Regions from separate parts of the Homo sapiens genome. Here region 1 is linked to region 2. The links are contacts of gene promoters, found by promoter capture Hi-C in blood cells and fetal thymus (Javierre and others, 2016). All regions are on one chromosome and are shown on one strand. The core of a region is centred on a gene start or on the middle of the fragment in contact, and the rest is flanking DNA. Distances in the headings are between cores, read along the strand shown. Region 1 has its middle 14 kb from the start of OR10G7. Region 2 holds the start of OR6M1 (olfactory receptor family 6 subfamily M member 1).

Evidence for each region. Contacts are between HindIII fragments. The CHiCAGO score rates a contact against its expected background, and 5 or more counts as called.
Region 1: a contact is called between a fragment that was not itself captured here and the fragment with the promoter of OR6M1 in region 2, in 1 of 17 cell types (endothelial precursors). The highest score is 5.2, in endothelial precursors.

What each region holds. Positions count from the first base shown.
Region 1 is chr11:124,051,748-124,058,628 of GRCh38, reverse strand. It overlaps the pseudogene OR10D5P. Among named protein-coding and RNA genes, the nearest start is that of OR10G7, 14 kb to the right of the region's middle. The HindIII fragment of the contact is 2,119 bases long and covers 2,898-5,016 here.
Region 2 is chr11:123,801,692-123,809,475 of GRCh38, reverse strand. It overlaps OR6M1 (olfactory receptor family 6 subfamily M member 1), which reads left to right and starts at 3,127. Exons shown (of 1, transcript NM_001005325.1): 1 at 3,127-4,068. The coding sequence starts at 3,127. The coding sequence ends at 4,068. The region is part of intron 2 of LOC105369544 (a long non-coding RNA gene); the gene reads right to left. The HindIII fragment of the contact is 4,667 bases long and covers 1-3,828 here.

The DNA of each region.
Region 1 (6,881 bases), core at 2,708-5,207, 250 kb before region 2:
ACTGAGAGTATAGAACAAAATCAAGACATGTATCTATGGTAAATTGATTTTCAACAACGGAGCCAAGACCATTCAATAGGAAAGAAGTCTTTCAGCAAATGGTCCTGGTACAACTAGATATTCGCAGGTAAGAGAATGAATTTGAACCCTTAACTCATACCATTTATAAAAACTACTCAAAAAGAATCATAAAACTAAATGTAAGAACTAAACTATAAAACTCTTAAAAGAAAACATGGGCATCATGACCTTAGACTTGGCAATGATTTCTTAGATATGACACCAAAAGCACAAATAACAAAAGAAAGATAAACTGGACACCACTGAAATTTAAAGCTTTTATGCATAAAGGGTACTATCAAGAAGGTAAAAAGACCATTCACAGCATGAGAGAAAAGACTTGCAAATTATATGTCTGAAAAGGATCTGGCATCTGAGAATATATAAAGAATCATTACAATTCAACAACAAAAAGGCAAACAAACCAATTAGAAAATTGACAAATTACTTGAATAGACATTTTATTTTCTGAAGAGGACATACAGATGGCCAACAAACATGTGAAATGATGCTCAATTTCATTCATCATCGAAAAAATTCAGATCAAAACCACAATGATACACTGTATCATAGCCACTAGAATGGCTACATAAAATTTTTAAAAAGTGTTGGCCAAGATGTAGTAAAAACAGAACACTTCTACTTTGCTAGAATGTAAAATGGTGCAGCCTCTGTGGAAAATAGTTTGGAGATTCCTCAAAAGAGCAAACATAGAATTACTCTATGATCCGGAGGTCAGGAGACTGAGACCATCCTGGCTAACATGGTGAAACCCCATCTCTACTAAAAATACAAAAAAAAAAAAAAATTAGCGGGGCGTGGTGGCGGGCGCCTGTGGTCCCAGCTACTTGGCAGGCTGAGGCAGCAGAATGGCGTGAACCCGGGAGGTGGAGGTTGCAGTGAGCCGAGATTGCGCCACTGCCCTCCAGCCTGGGTGACAGAGTGAGACCCCGCCTCAAAAAAAAAAAAAAAAAAAAGAATCACTCTATGATCCAGCAATTTCATTAGTAGGTATATATCCAAAAGAACTAAAAACAGGTGTTCAAACAAAACATACACACAAGTGTTAATAGCAGTACTATTCAAAATACCCAAAGGTAGAAATAACTCAAATGTTAATCAACTGATGAATGGAAAAACAAATTGTGGTGTACCCATGCAGTGAAATATTATTTGACATAAAAAAAATGCTAGAACATAGATTAATCATGAAAATATTATACTCATTTAAATAAGCCAGTCACAAAAGACTGGCTTTGAAGGTTCATATTATATGATTCAACTTTTATGTAATGTCCAGAATAAGCAAGTCTATAGATATAAAAAGTTGATTAGTGTTTGCTTACTAAGGGTGATGTGGGAACAGGGAGGTAATGGTTAAAGGGTATAGGACATTTTCTGTGGTGATTAAAATGTTCTAAGATTGACTGTGGTAAAGGTGGTACATATGTAAATATATGAAAAACCATTGAATTGTACACTTCAAATTCACAAATTATTTGGTGTGTGATTATATCTCAAAAAAGCTATTTAAAAAATTATGGCAATTGAAAATTCTTGATACATGATTAAAACAAGAAAATATATATATGAGCTAATCACAACTATAAATCTCTCTAAAATATATACATATATAGATACATAATATAAATATAGATATAGATATAGATGACATAGATAGAAATGAAAAAAATTTAAACAAGAAGTCAGAAACCCTAATTCCAATTTAATCACTAATGAGAGAGGTAGGAAAAATGACAAAATATTAACAGTGGTTATCTCTTGGTGGTAGGATCAGTGAGTAATTTCTACTCATTTTACTTTTTTGCAGTGTCCTAGTTTTCTTTGAAGCTATTTACATGAGAAAACAATGACTATTATTTTTGAAGGCCCATAAGTTCTGGAATTCAAATTTAGTCCCTGACTGAATGAAAGCAAACTTGTAATCCTCTTACAGAATTGAAATTGTTGTTATAAAGAAATAATATGTTTACCTGAGAGACAGCCTATACTAATACATCTTTTTGGATATATGGGTACTAATTGACTTCTAAAGAGATTTTATTTTCTTTCTTTTTTTTTTATTTTTAAGACAGTGTCTCTCGTTCCATCGCCCAGGCTGGAGTGCAGTGCTGTGATCTTGGCTCACTGCAGCCTCCACCTCCCAGGTTCAGGCGATTCTCCTGCCTCAGCCTCCTGAGTAGCTGGGACTACAGGTGCCCACCACCACGCCTGGCTAATTTTGTATTATTAGTAGAGACGGGGTTTCACCATGTTGACCAGGCTGGTCTTGAACTCCTGAGCTCAAGTGATCTGCCTGCCTCAGCCTCCCAAAGTGCTGGGATTACAGGCGTAGGCCACCATACCCAGCCAGATAATTTCTTGGTATCAGACTCAGACATATGTCATCCATCAAAATATAGACTCAAAAAAAGTTATAGAAATCAATGGAGCAAATTTAATGTACTAGATTTGCTGGCAAATTGAAGAATATTCTGTGTAAACCGAAAAGAAGCTCCTGAGAGAAGTATTTATGTTACCATTTAGACACTACAGAAGCAGCATTAGCACATGGTTAAGACGCTTTGGGTCACATTTTCGCCCAGCAAGTTTTTAACTCCATGACACTGCAGAAAGATCTCAGCCTCTCAGTGCCTTAATTTTCCCTCGTAAATCGAGATAATAGTATTATCTACTTCATATGATTATTATAATCATTACATGTATCAGTATTTGTAAATAGCGCCTGGTACTCAGTCATCAAACAAAATATAGGAGCTAATTGCCCCCAGATAAATTCAAGACAAAGCTGTAAAGACAGACCAGGATATAAAGCTTACCTTCCACAATTATGTACTCCTTGAATGAGCACCTTTCTCAGTGCCAGCTTTACACCTTTGTTTCTCAAAGTATATATCAAAGGATTCAGGGAAGGGATAACAATATTATTCAACACCTGAACCACAGAGTCCAGCCAAGGGCTGGAGGCAGGTCGGAGATAAATGAGGACTATTGGTCCATAGAAGAGCAGGATGGACGTCAGATGGGCACTGCAGGTTGAGAAGGCTCTGCGCCTACCTTCTGAGGAACTGATTTTCAGTATAGAGATAACAATGCAAGCATAAGAGGTGAGGATAAGAAGAAAACACATGAGCGCAACAACACCTACGTTGATGAAACTCACTGTCCGTGCTAGAGAGGTGTCTGCGCAGGCCAGGGGCAGCACCACCGGAATATCACAGAAAAAAATTGTCCACTTCATTGGGGCCACAGTAGGATAACTTAAAGATGAGGAGTGTGAGGACAGATGCATGCAGACAGCTCCCCGTCCAGGTGCCTAGCGTCAGGAGGGCACACACCCTGCGTTTCATGATGACCGTGTATGGCAAAGGGTGGCAGATGGCTGCAAATCGGTCATAGGCCATCACAGTGTACAGGAAACACTCGGTGCAACCCAGGAAATGGTGAAAGAAGAGCTGGGAGGCACAACCCTGGAAAGAGATGGTGCAGCTTTGTCCCACTAAGCAGAGCATCATTTTGGGGGAACTCACTGAAGGGAAAAATATGTCAAACACAGACAGGTTTCCCAGGAAGAAATACATGGGGGTGTGGAGGTTGGAGAAAGTGAGGACGGCCAGAAGAATGAGTAGGTTCCCCAGCAAGGTGAAGAGGTAGAAGGCCAGAAATAAGACAAAAAGCACATTTTCCATCCCCTTTGTATGAGGGATTCCCATCAGGGGGACCTCAGTTACTGGAGTGTGATTCTTTATCTTCATGTCAAATTAGTCCTGGAACATCAAACAATGGCCTCACTGAGATGAGTTTTTCCTGCAAAAAACTCTTTATAGAGCCTATCGCAAACTGATAATAAGTATATAGAGTGGAGAACTTCTAAATAAGACTCAGTTCAATCCTGTCATTAATTATTGAGTGACATTTGGGTAAGTTATTAATCTATTTTTCATCTGTTTCCTCATAAGTAAAATGAAGAGACAACACTAGAGTTGATATAGAAGAGAAGGTGTAGAATAAACTTTACAACTGGAAGTATCTGAGTTTACATACTAAACACGCTGCCCACTCTGACATCAGATGACCTTGAAAAAAACTCTTTAAATCTTTTCTGAATATATATAAATAGTAAAATAATATATTATGGTTCCTGTGTACATTAATGCATTGATGTCTGCAAAGTACCCATATAATTTTGGCTCCTACCCATCTTTGTTAAAAAATTTATTCATCAAATTATTTAATGTGTGCCTTATTCCACAGCATTTCTCTAAGTTGACTTGTAGCAGTTCTGAGATTACCCATTCATGTGACTGATCCGGGAGGCAGCTTTCTCAATCAGCAGCTAGAGTAACTGAAAACTGAGAATTGTCTAATGGGTGTAAAACAGAAAGGAAGCCTGGGCATGGCGGCTCACACCTGTAATCCCAGCAGCTTGGGAGGCCAAGGTGGCAGGATCACTTGAGCCCAGGGATTTGAGACTAGCCTAGGCAATACAGTGACGCCTTGTCTCTTCAAAAATTTAAAAAAAAAGGAAAAGAAAAAGAAAAAACTAGCTGAGTGTGGTGGTGTATGTCTGTAGTCCCAGCTACTTGGGAGGCTGAGGTGGGGAGATCCTTTAAGCTGAAAAGGCAGAGATTGCAGTGAGCCAAAATCATGCCACTGCACTCCAGCCTGGGTGACAGAGTGAGACCCTGTCCCAAAAATAACTTAAATAAAAATAAAGAAATAAAAGAATAGAAAAGATGATATGTAGGTAGGAAAAAGCAATAGATAATTACTGATATTAAAAACAGCCATTTCTTTTAATAGAGTTTAGTGTCCAATAGCAATTATATCTGTGACTTGACTGCAAATAATCATCATTTTTCCTAGAATTAGCTTTATAATTCCCCATTATCACTTTACATCTTATTCATTTCCTAAAATTTCTAAGGTTAAGCTTCATTAATCAGGTAATAGCTCAATAAAATACCATGGAGTCAACTAAGTCAGATTTAGCCCAAAGTCAAACAGAGCCAATTCCCACGTTCTTCCCACCTTCCTCTAGTGCGTAGAACTCATCAGAAGATGAGAGGGGAGCACTCCAGAGAAAAGGCACTCACAGACTGAAGGGAAATGTGGCTGTCCTGGGCTGAAAACCAGGCCCTACGTCCACCCAGCCCTGTTTCCTTTGCTTTTAGGTGCTGTGGATCATCTGTGGCTCTGGGGCTAGAAAAGCCGAATGTTCCTCTTTTTCAGACTCAGCCACCCAGGCCAGAAAATCTCAGTGCCCCTGGCCCCTGAATGAAGTAGCAGCAATCAAGCCCTCAAGAGTGAATAAAAGTCTTCAGTTCCTTTGGGACCCTCTTCCCTAATGGGCACTAAGGAAGTGTGGAACCAAGGAAGCAATTAGACTGGAGGCGTTCCTCTCTTCCCTTCTCTTTCTCCCCACTGCATCTACCTCATTAATTCTTAGACTGAAATGCAATTATACAGTGGTATTTAGTTATATTCAGTTTAAAGCTCTTTAATTAACAATAATTCTTGGGCTGTTTTTCCTCTAGGAGCGAGCCATCCATGAAGTTCAGATGTTTGAGATTGCCCAGTGATCCTTTACCTGGAGAATCTGGGTTTGAAGAAAGAGCCAGAAATTAGGAAAGCAACCACTTAAACAGGCAACAATCCCATCTGATGCTAAAAACAAAACAAAACACAGCTGCACCTGTTTTTTTCTACAATTTGCTTTATAATCCCCCATTATCACTTCCACAACTGATTGAATTCATATTTTATTCATTTTATTTTTTTAGTCTCCTCTTAAAAAAAAAACAGGATACATGTGCAGAATGTGCAGGTTTGTTCCATAGGTATACGTGCCATGGTGGTTTGCTGCACCTATTGACCCGTCCTCTAAGTTCCCTCCCCTCACCCCCACCCCGTAACAGGCCCTGGTGTGTGTTGTTCCCCTCTGTGTCCATGTGTTTTCAATGTTCAACTCTCACTTATGAGTGAGAACATGCACATTTTCTCTTTATTTTCCTTTAAGACTGCTACTGACATTAATTTTAGCATACATTAATTACTGTAACTTGGTTGGATGTATATTTTAAGAATTCAGTCTGCTGACTGCTGTGTAGAGGATGGATCAGAGTGGACAAGGGTAGATTAAGTACATCTGTGAGCATGTTATTTTTACTGGCTAACAAACAAAAAGCAAATGGGTTTATTAAAAATGTTATGACTAAAATCCCTTTGAGAAAATATAGAAGGCACAGAAATTACAACTATACTGTTGTATAAGTAAGTTTATCAGCATTTTTATAATTATTGTGCTTCTTTATGCCAGAAAAAGTACAGAAGAGACTGCCACCTCCATGTTTTAAAACAGTAATGACTGCTTACTGAGAATCTTTCTTTTTTAAAAACCAGACTGCCCAAGGCCCCTTTGTTTTATTCTTGCATTGGCCCCATTAGTTAAATTTTCTTTTAAAGACAAAAATAGGGCTCAAATAGTTAAAACAGTTGCCAAAGTTGACTCCAAAAGTCAATCATAGAGCTTGGATTTGAGTTTTAGTCTGACTGCATTTAACATTTATGCCCAATTCTAACAAAATAGAATAAATATTTTGAATACGAATTTAAAAAGTAAACATGCAGAGTCTCTCATTCCTACCCATTTTCTTGTTCTTTAGTTTTGTGTTAGATCAACATAAAATCTTAAATTTTTCTAACTAGTGATAATTTCTATGTGTTTAAAAGCTTTATTGAGAAGTAATGTATATGTCATAAAAGTTCACCCATTTTAAATGTACAATTCAGTAAATACA
Region 2 (7,784 bases), core at 1,878-4,377:
ACTGAAGTCATCCAAGCAATGGCTGGATGCATATGCGGTGAGAGTGCTAATGAGAAGGATTCATTATGGGGTTGGATGGTCAGTGGCCTAGTAAGGGTTATTTCATCTTTGAGAGATATTTCTATGAGTTAGAAATAGAATTAGCAAAAATAATAATAAATTCAAAGTACAAAATACAATGCTATGAATTAATTCATACATTTATATATGATAAAGTTTGAGCCTCTACCTATGTCTCACATACAAAACAGGAAAAGTTTACATTATATAATTGATGCAATGTAAGTATACTTTTTTGCATATGTTTATTTACTAATATGATATAACTTTTGTTAAATTTACTTTTCTGTGTATAGTCGCTCTAATCTTTCAATATTCTTAATGAATGGAGTCAGAAGCCAATCTGGAATGATTCAGGTTAAGTATGCATTAGAAATATTCCTCAGTTAAAAATTAATCTTTTCATGACTTATTGTTATTAATTCAGATAAGAAACAATTAGTGTTAATTGTTCATCTCCTTTCTTAAAAGAATCAATTTTTTAGCAAGAATCTATTAGGTATTGTCACATATATGATTTAATTTAAACCTCATGGCAGGTCATTTTGAACATTAGAATTATCTTTATTTCTCTGATAAAGAAGCTATGACTCAGAGGTGACGAATTTAATTCAATAAAAAAGAGCTGCAAGTGGTAAAAACCAGGATTGGAACCCAATTCTTCAAACTATCTCACATTAATCTAATTAATACTTGAGTCTTAAAATGTAAAATATACTTAAAGTAAAATAAAAAAATAAGAATAAAGGTAGTGCTTATCTCATAGGTTATAATGAAAATTAAAAGAGTAAACTGCTTTCGATCATGTCTGGCAACTACTAAAAACTCAATAAAGATCTATTTTTATTGAAAACCGAAAAAAATTGTAAAATATAATTTGCCTGCTGAAAAACCCCATGGAAATAATAATACAAGACACACAAAAAACAGGTAACAAAATGCCTTGTATAGAAAGTTCATATGTAATTTCCCATGCTATTATATTAGTATATGTATTCATGATTAGCCACTTTTATGCAGTAACTTAGCAAATAATTTAGGAGTTTATTTACTGGAGAATAAAAGAAGTTACAATCTTTGGGGTGGGTCAGGGAGTCAAAAAGTACTGATAGTAGGACCCTAAGACTTTAATGGACCTTTTAAATGTGCAGCCCAGCATTCTAAGATGAGAAAACTGAAGTTCAGAGCATAAAATAAGATTTATTTAAAAAAAAAAAGAGCACAGTATTTCTATGCCATTGAGGCATCAGCTACCCCAGCCCAGCTATGATATAGAACTATTCCCTCAGACTAAGAACCCATGAAAGAGATCTGTAAGTGATTTTACATTATCAACTGCTCTAGTAAAGTAAAATCTAATATTATAAGAATAAATCTTTCTTGGGTTTTTGTACTGAGTAACAAATAGTGAGGGCAAACACCCTATTGGAAAAGATTCTCGGGAATTAATAAGACAAGTGCACAAAAAATTTATGTGGAAGAATATTTATTTGATCATTATTTATACAAGCAAGAAATGTAAACCATCTAAATTTTCAGCATTAAGCAACTGGCTAAATATATCACAGTCCCACTGATAGAATCAAACACTATACAATTCTCAAAAATGATTGTGAAGACTTCTAGGAGTTGACATGGAAAGATGCTAAATTGTTTTAAGAAAAAGGAAGAAAGAAAGAAAAGAGAAAGAAAGGAAAAGGAAAAAAGCTAATTACAAAATAGTCTCCTAGTATGATTTATTTTAGATACACAAGTATGTACTTTGAACTTTAAAATAGCCTAAAACTATATACACCAAAAGGTCACTGTATCTCTAAGAAGTTCGATTACAGATTATAATTTTCTTTTCTGCACTTGCATTTTTTAATTCTTTGCACTAAAAATGTCTTTCTTGTATAATAAAAAGAAAAATAAAATAAGAGGGTAAATTTTTTATCTTGGAGGAAAGTGCAGGGGGAGTTTGGAAAAAGAAAAAGAGGTGGCCACGATCAGTAGCAAAGAGTGGAGGAGATGCTAACTTATCTATTAAGGATTTATTAAGGAGGTGCTAAGTGATATCTAGATAAATAAAGCACCAAGGTCAGAGTTAAAGCATGGGCTGGTTTTTACCTAAAATGGGGAGGTCTCTGCAAAATAATCATTTCTCACATTGTGGGACAAAGAACAAACTAGATGATCTTGAAGTACAGTTTCACAATGTCGGCTGACAAAGTAAATGAAGTGAGGTGAATTACCTCTATGTTGCCTTCCTGTATATAATTTGTGCCTCTCTGATGTTATCACACTATATACGGTGCTCTCAAATGATCAGCCAGATATATGATACATATTAGATACTGCACAGAACTTGTAGAAGGTAGGTTTTAGACACAAAAGCATAATCTAAGGGCGAGACACTCATTATTTCTTTTTGAGGTGTCATCTAAAATGATTAATAGGAACCGTCAGCTGTTGTTCCTTTTAATAATCTCTGGACAGTTTTCACAGATCTATACATGCTAGGGAAAGATGTTAAGAATTCGGAGACTCTGGATATCTACAAATGTAGAAAAAACTAAATCAACCTTTATTAAATGACAACCACCAAAGTGAAAGAAAGTTTGTTATAGAAAAGACTTTACGTTTCTAAAGGATTTGCCACTCAGGAACTGTAAACCAGAATAATAGAAGGGCATTCTGATTAAGTATACATCAGTACATTAGCACATTTTTAGCTGAGAAAATGAAGCCAAAAGAATAGAAAAGATTAGAAATTTCATCAATGAAAAGGAATAGAATTTTATAACTAGAAGGAAGTTGAGTTTTTTTTATCCAGCCTTATTCCGTCATTTTACAGGAAAAACAAACAAACAAACAAAAAAAAACCATGTACCTAAATAGTATCTTGACTTTCCCAGTGTGGCACAATAATTAACTTGCAGATAGAGGACTACATACCAGGTCTACATCTCCCAATATAAGCCACTCTCCGCAATACATTCTCAGCAGATATTTACAAAATTACCTAAGCTGATTTTCCTTTTCTTGTTTCTTCAGGGAAACCCTGCCCACCATATAGTAGTTGTCATGGGAAACTGGAGCACTGTGACTGAAATCACCCTAATTGCCTTCCCAGCTCTCCTGGAGATTCGAATATCTCTCTTCGTGGTTCTTGTGGTAACTTACACATTAACAGCAACAGGAAACATCACCATCATCTCCCTGATATGGATTGATCATCGCCTGCAAACTCCAATGTACTTCTTCCTCAGTAATTTGTCCTTTCTGGATATCTTATACACCACTGTCATTACCCCAAAGTTGTTGGCCTGCCTCCTAGGAGAAGAGAAAACCATATCTTTTGCTGGTTGCATGATCCAAACATATTTCTACTTCTTTCTGGGGACGGTGGAGTTTATCCTCTTGGCGGTGATGTCCTTTGACCGCTACATGGCTATCTGCGACCCACTGCACTACACGGTCATCATGAACAGCAGGGCCTGCCTTCTGCTGGTTCTGGGATGCTGGGTGGGAGCCTTCCTGTCTGTGTTGTTTCCAACCATTGTAGTGACAAGGCTACCTTACTGTAGGAAAGAAATTAATCATTTCTTCTGTGACATTGCCCCTCTTCTTCAGGTGGCCTGTATAAATACTCACCTCATTGAGAAGATAAACTTTCTCCTCTCTGCCCTTGTCATCCTGAGCTCCCTGGCATTCACTACTGGGTCCTACGTGTACATAATTTCTACCATCCTGCGTATCCCCTCCACCCAGGGCCGTCAGAAAGCTTTTTCTACCTGTGCTTCTCACATCACTGTTGTCTCCATTGCCCACGGGAGCAACATCTTTGTGTATGTGAGACCCAATCAGAACTCCTCACTGGATTATGACAAGGTGGCCGCTGTCCTCATCACAGTGGTGACCCCTCTCCTGAACCCTTTTATCTACAGCTTGAGGAATGAGAAGGTACAGGAAGTGTTGAGAGAGACAGTGAACAGAATCATGACCTTGATACAAAGGAAAACTTGACACTGGTATACACTACATTAAATACATTTCTTTTTTTATTATTTTTTTTAAGTTCCAGGGTACATGTGCAGGATGTGCAGGTTTGTTACATAGTTAAACGTGTGCCATGGTGGTTTGCTGCACCTATCAATCCATCACCCATGTACTAAGCCCAGCATGCATTAGTTCTTTTTCCTAATGCTCTCCCCAACCCCCAGCCCTCCCCCAATGGCACACATTTCTTATCTTCAACACATTCTTTCTGCACGACTATGGTGGTGTTTGGTGTGCCAGAAACTGAGATGGTGCCCCAGGATGAGCAATGATCATGCCAAACTGAAGGAAAACTCTGATCATGTCTGGGAGAAAATTCAATCCATGAAGTATCTTGCATATACCACGAAGGGAGGCTGGGTGCAGTGGCTCACACCTGTAATCCCAACATTTTGGAAGGCCAAGATTGGAGGATTCATTGAGCCCTGGAAGTTGAGGCTGCAATGAGCTGTGATTGCACCACTACACTCCATCCTGGGTGGCAGAGTGAGACCTCGCTTTTCTGTTGTTTTGTTTTGTTTTTGTTTTTGTTTTTAAATACCATGAAAGAAACCTAACAGGGATTCAGAGATCTCCAATTCTAGTCCTGGCTAAGTTCACTTATTTTCCACAGATTTTGACCATGCTACAACTTATCCGGTCCTCAATGTCTCTCTCCATTTTTAAATAAAATAATAGATAATAAAATATCACTACTTTTAGTAAGGCATGTAAAGTTAAAAAATATTTTCTTATTAGGCACTCTTGAATATTTCTAGAGACTTGGTTTTAACCTCTATTGGCCAGATCAAGTAAAGATGATGTGAGAAGTGAGAGAAAAAGAGGTATGACTCAGGAAGGTACCAAGCCTCTAGCTATACAGAGTGAAAAAGAAAGATATTTGATGAGAAAAGGAACACAGGGCCAGGCGCGGTGGCTCACACCTGTAATACCAGCACTTTGGGAGGCTGACGCAGGCAGATCACTTGAGGTCAGGAGTTCAAGACTAGTCTGGCCAACATGGTGAAACCCCGTCTCTACTAAAAATACAAAAATTAGCTGTGTGTGGTGGTGCATGCCTGTAGTCTCAGCTGCTCAACAGGCTGAGGCATGAGAATTGCTTGAACCTGGGAGGCAGAGGTTGCTGTGAGCCAAGATCAAGCCACTGCACTCCAGCCTGGGTGACAGAGTGAGACTTCGTCTAAAAAAAAAAAAAAACAGAAGAAGAAAAAAAAAAGAAAGGAAAATAGGAGGGGTTTCTTAGGGGTGGACCTATTGAACTGGAGGTTTTTGAGGGTCATCCAGTTATAAGTTGTTCTATTTTGCTGAAGCACTAGAAATAGCTCCCTTGGTATCTTTTTATGGGCATTTGGCAATAAAATAAAGACTTGCTAGACAATGAGTTCCCAACAGTTGTATTAAAGGCCAGATTTGTTGGTCCTTTTCTCGGTCACCTAAATCTTTTGTGATTTAAATCTCTCTGGCTCTTTCTGGCTCTAAAAATAAATAAATAAATAAAAAAGTTTTAGTTTAACTGTATGGTTTAATTACCATTGTATATATTATGGTCATTTTTCCCCAGAACTCATTAGGCAGTCAGGCATTTATTCATAGAAGATGTGCTGAGCACACCTGAATTATGATCCTGGGCAAGTTATCGAAACTTTCTGTATCTCAGTTTCTTACTTATCTACAAAATGAGAATTTCAACGGTGCGGGGCTAAAGTAGGATTAACCTAAAAGCACTTATACCAATTGTATGATACAGAAATGCTGAATGAATATTATTTATCTTTTTTAGGGCCCTGTGTAAAATTCAATGGGAGATGCTGATGATACAAAGAGAAACAGGACATGATCTCCACTCCTAAGTTATTCACATTTTAGCTTGACAGAAAAGAATATACTAGAAAATTTTATGAATGATAAATTGTAAAAATAAATGAATTAATACTTCTGATATTGGCCATGGTGGAGTAACAGATATTTGATTTTATCTTTTGACTTAGGCAACTAGAAAATGACAAAAATACATAAAGCAAACCATTTCACACATTGTCTAACAAGCAATACAAGATTGCAATTATTGAGAGAAGAAAAACAAAACAAGGTGAGCCTTAAAAGTGCTCCAGTTTGCAACCTGGGTGCGGTCTCCTCCCCTGCAGTCTATGGGGAGTATTCAAACAGAGGCTGGAAGTTTCTATGAGTAAGAAAATAGAGATCAGTTTGGGGAGGCCAGGGCAACTTGAAGTTACAGGCAAGACGACCAGAAATGAAAGAGTTGCATAGAAATAGAACTCTGGAGATAGGCAGAAGGATCCCCTGAAGACTTTGGCTGAATATAGAGCTAAGCAGTCATGAAAAGAAATTACCTGAAGATCTGAAAGGATCCACGAGAAATCAACAGGCCAAATAATTTCTGGTGTTCACATAGGGATAGAAATAGTTTGTGTTTCTTTCAGCCAGAGTAAAAAGACCTTTTAATATTAGGGTATTAGGTAGAGTAAGGGGGATAAATTATCTCTAGTGCAAAGACAGACCTAGCTTTTTCCTAAAAGGCTTTCAAAACAAGACTGAAAAGATCAAACTAGTCCACAAGTAATTGCCTAGGAGAACCAAGTCTAACACAACTTAAAAGAATACAACAAAATATATAATTTAATAATTTAATATCACAATATCCAGCATCCAAACAAAAATTTCTAAGTATATAAAGAAGCAGGATATTGTGATACATAACCAGAAAGAAAATCATCAAAAGAAGCCAATCTGGAAATGATGGGAATTCACAGGAAAAGAATATTTAAATAGCTATGTGCCCAAGAATTTAGACTGTAAAGTGATTTAACAATTAAATTATAAAAATTATTAATATTTAAAATAATTTAAAGCGTTTCTTATATAAATATTCTCATATAGTAGATATCATCATAATTATTTGTCCTGCACACTTTTATAACTTTAGATGTCTTTCTTGTATTATTTTATTTTTTGCTAGCATCCATTATTCTTACAGAGTTGGCCATGATGATCCCATATCTTTAAGTTATTAGATGAAGAGCTTTGTAGGAAATGTTATTTGGCTCAATACAATGCACATGATCTATTTTTTAAATGGCTATAAAAGATAGTTTTCATTCATTCTTCTTTCCTTTGCGCACAGGATAACAGGTAGGAGATGTGACCGAATTTCTTCTTGGCCACACCAATCTGTGCAAAGGCCAAAATAAAATTTCAAATGTCACTGGCCCTTGTTCACCTCACCTAGGTGCATACCATAAGCTCTTGCTCTCCTGTGCAATTACTAGCAAGTAATTTCTACCAAGTGTTTCTTGGAATCCCCAAGAGATGTTTCTTATGTACTTATGAACTCTCAATATTATCTGGCTCTGGCTACCCTTCATTGATTTACACTCTTTGAAGCCACCTGAGGGCAGAGCTTCCTCACTATTACTGCAGTCTATTCCCCCTTTAAGAAACTGATGTCAGTGACGAAGGAGCTGTCTTTCAATTACCTCAAAACACCAAACCACTGAGATGGTAGGTATGCCACTATATCTGCTGTTATTCCTGCTATAGGCAGAGACACTAAGCTGTATTCAAAGAAGAAATTAGGAGAATCCCCATTATGCCTACTTATTTACTGAGGCACAGATATAAGGTGGCTTAGGCACTATTTTTCAGTGGGTCCTTCATTTTCTTCA